Regions from separate parts of the Homo sapiens genome. Here region 1 is linked to region 2. Evidence: promoter capture Hi-C in 16 types of primary human blood cells and fetal thymus (Javierre and others, 2016). All regions are on one chromosome and are shown on one strand. Each heading gives the region's core, a stretch centred on a gene start or on the middle of the fragment in contact. The rest is flanking DNA. Distances are from core to core; before and after follow the strand shown. Region 1 overlaps PRKCH (protein kinase C eta). Region 2 holds the start of PRKCH-AS2 (PRKCH antisense RNA 2).

What was found. The method cuts DNA at HindIII sites, captures the fragments that hold promoters and counts their contacts. A CHiCAGO score of 5 or more calls a contact.
Region 1: a contact is called between a fragment that was not itself captured here and the fragment with the promoter of PRKCH-AS2 in region 2, in 3 of 17 cell types (neutrophils, activated CD4 T cells and M0 macrophages). The highest score is 16.3, in neutrophils.

The regions. Positions count from the first base shown.
Region 1 is chr14:61,491,675-61,494,374 of GRCh38, forward strand. The region is part of intron 10 of PRKCH (protein kinase C eta); the gene reads left to right. Among named protein-coding and RNA genes, the nearest start is that of PRKCH-AS2, 52 kb to the right of the region's middle. The HindIII fragment of the contact is 5,736 bases long and covers 1-2,700 here.
Region 2 is chr14:61,544,227-61,546,926 of GRCh38, forward strand. PRKCH-AS2 (PRKCH antisense RNA 2) reads right to left here and starts at 1,258. Exons shown (of 3, transcript NR_188139.1): 1 at 868-1,258. All of the region lies in intron 12 of PRKCH (protein kinase C eta), which reads left to right. The HindIII fragment of the contact is 1,799 bases long and covers 1-1,585 here.

The DNA.
Region 1 (2,700 bases), core at 154-2,653, 52 kb before region 2:
CCCTCAAATGGGGTCTTCCCTTTTCCCGTAGTGAAACTCATCAGCCACTGTTCTGCACCCTTGCATGGCCTCTGGAGATCTTTTAACAAGTATTTGTTGAGCGTCACCCTTCTGCCAAGGATATGGATGTAATGGTATGAGCAAAAACAAAAATACTCGCCAGTGGAGGGTATGATCCAGTGAGGGAGAAAGATGTCAATCAAATGATTATACCAATAAAAAGTAGCAACCATGACTAGTGCTATGAAGAGGAGAAATACAATGCAGTGAATGAGAACCTAGAATAGGGTGATTCTATCCAGTTAGGGAAAGATGGAAGATTTTTATAAGGAAGTGACTCTTGGGCTGAGGTCACGGTAAAGAGGGAAGGAAGGAACATTTGAGACAGAAGAAACAGCAAACGCAGATAGATGCCCAGTAACAGGAAGGAGTGTGGCAAGGTCAGGGGTTTTTAGAGCAGGCCAGCCTGGCTGGAGTCTAGGAAGCGTATCTTACTTCACTTGGCATTTTATTATCCTACAGTGTTCAGTCAGCTGATGACTTCAAGATTTTATTAAACACTCCTTGTAAATAATTTATTTGAAGGTTAGGTAAGGCCGGTCATGTTGCCAATCCCTGGAGGAGCCATCTATTCACAGTGAGTTCTCTGTGTCCAGGTCTGTGCATTTATACTCAACAATGGGTTTATAAAATATTAGAGCCAGAGGAGACCTCAAACGTTGCTAAGGGCCAAGTTATCTTTTACAGATGAGGGACTTCAGGTGTGAAACGTCCAAAAATTGTTTCTCATAGTGGATATTCTCTTCGGATGACTCATCTGCTGTTTGCTTTCCATCTCCAGGAAAACAAAAATATGGCTAGAAAATTTTGTTTCAGTCTTCAACTTACAGCTGGCATGAAGAGCAAACCAAGACATTTTGAGGCATTCAACCCTGTTTACTCCATTGCAGTGAGAAAAATCCAGTTGAGATCAGAACATATTTCCTGAGCTGCCACCTAGTGCCGGATGTTGCATTAGGAGGTGTAGATACAAGATGAGTAGATGAGATGTCTGCCCTTTGAGGCGCTTTCTGTGGGGTGAGAGAGATAGCCATTAATAAGTCATGGCAGCTGGGTTCCAAAATTGGAGTTTTCCCAGGGTATCTTGGGAGCAGACAGAATGGCCACTTGCCCTAAGATGGATGTTCAGGCAAACTTCCTGGAGGAGGTGATGCCTGAGCTGAGTGTGAAGAGTTAAAAGCTGAACAAAGATAAGGAGGGTGTTTAGGTAGGGGAGCAAGTTTGAGCAAAGCAGAGAAGTGTGGTGAATGTGTAGTTAAAGTGGAAAATGACAGGAACTTTGGTAGCACTGGAGCCTGAAGTTGGAGGCATGGGAAGAGGGAAGGCTAGAGGAGGCTGCAGAAATGAAGTATTAAGCACTTACTGTTCTTGAGATGTTTGAATTCTGGGTCACTTAGGACTTTGCTCCATTGCCTATCACAGGAAACATAAAAATGACAGTGGCTTAAGCCAGATGGAAACATAGTGCTCTCTCACATGAAAAGCCTGGAGGTAGGTAGTCCAGCCCCGCCATGGAAGCTCCGTGGAGTCATTTGCAACCCAGATTTCTGTGCTTTCTGTTCTGCTGTAGACAGGGTCACGTCCTTGTCTAAATGGTTGCTGAAGATCTAGGAATCATCTCTCTATTCCAATTCCATGTAGTAAGAAGGGCTAGAGGGCATTCCTCCAAACTGAGTCAGCTCCCTTTAAGGGGCCTCCTGGAATTCCACACAGTACTTACCATGGAATTGGCCAGAACTTGATCATATGGCTGAGTCTAGCTCCAGTGAAAGCCAAGAAATACAGTATTACAAGTGGCCATGTTCCAGCTAAAAATCAGCATTCCATTATTAAGAAGGGAAAGAATCATTATTTGATAGAAAACTTGCAGTGTCAGACACAAATTCCATGCCAGGGAGTCTGGGCTTTATGGAGCAGGTAACCTTTGAAGAATTCTCAGCAGGTCTTATGACATGAGTGGATTTATATTTTACTTTTACGTGCGGGTGGGGGGCATGGCATGTGTGGACATACCCATGGTAAGCAGCAGCCAGGTTGCAAGGGAGAGGTTCATTTTGAGGCAGTTGCAGAGTTCCAAGTAACAAGATAATGAGGACCTGAACTAAGACAGTGATGGTAGGGCTGATGAGAAAGGCATAAGAGATAATAGCAAGTAAAGCTGATAGGACTTAGTATTTGGGTGGATTCAGGGTAAAAAAGAAACCGGAAATCATTTCCAGGTGTTTAGCTAGAAGGTTGAGTGGATGGCAGTGCCATTAGCTAGGAGAGATCATGTGCCTAGGAAGAAGTCTAGGCAAAAGAGGAAGAAGTTTTAGAAAGGTTGTATGACAGGTGCCTGAGGTATACTCCAGTGGAGATGCTCCATGGATAGGGGCATAGGAGTCTGAAGCTCAGTAAAGAGGATGGGCTGAATTAAATATTTGGAAGTCATCAGGACATAGCTATTAGTTGAGACCACGAGACTGAATGAGATCACCCAATAGGAGTCTCTTAAATGGAACAGTGTGAGTCAAGGACAGAACCCTGGGGAACCAGACTCCATTAGAAATCTGCCTAAATTTGGCTCCAGGGTTATAGAAACAATTGGTATGTTCATCATTTAGAGTAAGTATCCCCAAAGTGCCAGTGTATTAAAAATAT
Region 2 (2,700 bases), core at 8-2,507:
GGGCATCTGGTGCCCCATGAAAAGCAGAAGCCCCTGCTCAACTCCAGGCCGTTTCTATGAGAGGAGTGCAGGCCCAGTGTTCCCGAGTATCTCATTTTCCACGAGAAGTTGGAAAACCTGACTTTTCATGTGATGTGACATTTCCTAGCGTTTAAATATTTGAGAAGTAATTAAAATTATTTCAAAACACACTAGGTAGGCCAAATAAAATGTGTCTGAGACCTAGGGCTGGTATCAGTTCTAGTCTGTCTCTGTCACTTTCCACAATCTAACCTGCCCTCCCAGCTTCAGTGGTTACTCAAATTTCAATGTCTCTGAGCGTTAGATGGCCAGCCCTGGCCTGCACCCCAGATTTACCCTAGAATTCATCTGCATGTGGGTGCCCACACACCTCCAATGCAAAGCGGAGCCCATCAGCCTCCCAGATTTGGCAGACTGTAGGATCTCAGTAAGTGTGAGCTATTTTTGTCTTTGTTCCACTAACAAAAATACTACTACTACTAACACTGCTACTAATACTCATGCTACAAAGAATAATCTCTTGCCCCTCTTTTGTTCCATTTCTGTTACTCAACACCACTGCCCCATCAGGCAGCCAGGGAGGACCCTGTGATCTTGGACTCTTCACTCCCATTCCCGGCAGTTAGTGGATTGTGTTTATTCTTCCACGGCCCTCTAGAATGTGCTTCCAACTCTTCCTTCCAATTAACTAGAAACTCTCCTAGTTGCTGAACTTGTCATGTGTTCTCAGCTATTGTCTCAGCCTCTAACTGCTCACCACCAGGCGCTACCTCTGCATTTAAGATTTATTCATCACGCTGTGGCTAGTGTCATCCCCTAAATTGCCGTGCAGCTCTCATCACTCACCTCGGATGGATCCCACCGGCTGCCCCCGCAGTTCCTCAGCCATCCCTGCATGCCAGCTGTACCAGGCACTTGTATGCCTCTGCATTTGTGCTGGCTGTGTCCTCAGGCGCATTTTCTTCCTTCATGCCTACTATGTTAATTCTGTTCGTCCTCATCTCTGGTCAAATGCCACCTCTTCCACGAGGCTGTCACTTGCCTTCCCACCACCAGCCCCAGTGTTATTTGCCCCGTGCCTCTTCCAAGCTCTCACAGCACTTGATCTAAGTCTCTTTTCATTTCATCCGGCTGTGTATTATGAAGTTTGCTTGATTCTTCCCCCTTCTCTTGATTAGCTCCTGGATGAAGAGACACTGTCTTTGTCATCTGCGTATCCCCAAGAAACCCCTAGTGTGCTGCCTTACATGTAGTAGACACCTTGAAAACCTTTGTCAATTGAATCAAAGTTTGTTTGTGTGTGTGTGTGTTTTGTTTTTTCTTTTGGTTTGTTTTTTTTGTAAGTTGAGGATGGCTGCATCTAAAGGGCTCAGGCCAAGGTATTAAAAACAAAACTGCTTGGTTATTCAAAAGGATTTATCAGAACCCCAAGAGGCTAAGTATCAAGCTAGTGAAAGGGTTATTCTGCCTGTCCCCAATTCCAAGGGTGCAGTTTTTAGAGGACGGACGGTCGTGTTTGGTCTACTTGTCGTCAGGCAAGGCCTCTTCCACAGTGCCCCATGGAAGCTTGGGTTCAGTGCCAGGGGCAGGGAGGAATGGGCAAGCCTCTTGGACACTGGGGCTTCAGCCACCCTGGCATATAGAGTCCTGCACTGTTTGTCTTGCCCAGAAGAACAGGCTGTACCCACCCATTCACAAGATGTCCTCTCTCACATCATTGGCAGGCCTGGGAATTTCCCACAGGCCATCTGGGTGTGTTCTGCCGTCCTGTCTCCCAAGTTTTTTGCAGCATTGTTTCTTGTTAATTAGCTCTTAGAATAGCAACTGCTCTTCCATCAGGAATTGTATCCCGTTGACTTTCCTAAGGCAAGAATCTACTCATTTCTTTTTTGTAAGCATTTTCTCCCTTCCTGCCTGCATTGCACAGGCTTACTTAGTGAGAGCCCAAGCAGTGTGAACTAACTCCTAGCTCTTACAGAACTGAGTTACTTATAATATGCATCTCCTGAATCCTGGGTGACCACTGTAAGTGCCTGAAGTGGCAGCTGCTCTGACTGGGCCTGTGCAGCTCTGAATGCTGCATTTACTTTTGGGTCCTGCCTCCAACCCAGAACCACCTGTGGCCTTTAATTCCTGTTACTAGGAGAGAGGAGAAGCGATTAAACCCTGTCAGTATATTCATTTATTAGCTGCCCTTTGAAGCTTTTTTGAAAGCATTTTACAAGGTATATCCCGTCAGGTTGCTTAGGAACTTTTGCAGCCTCCTTCTTCAACATTATCATTTTCATTTGAATCAACACTGGCAGCTTGACACCTCTGGACACCTGGCATGGCAGTGGGAGGTACCTCCAAACACTGTCTTTCCGTGTCTGCACCTTCAACAAGATTTTCTCTGTAAATTCAGCTCCAAAACAATTTTTATAAACACAGCATTACTTTTGTGTTGTTCACAAATCAGATTTGGAAAGAGGTGCTTGGGGACTGTCATGAGTCTATTTAAAGATAACCTGATTTAAATAAAAACAAAAACAAAACTTTTTATCCAAGGCAATTTTCTTTCAATATGGGAAATTAAATTAGCTTCAGTGTCTTTGAAATTGAGAACCACACTCCGGCCATGAAAAGTGAATTATCCTGTACTAATCCTTGCTCAGGAAGTGATCAAAACACCTTTCCTGG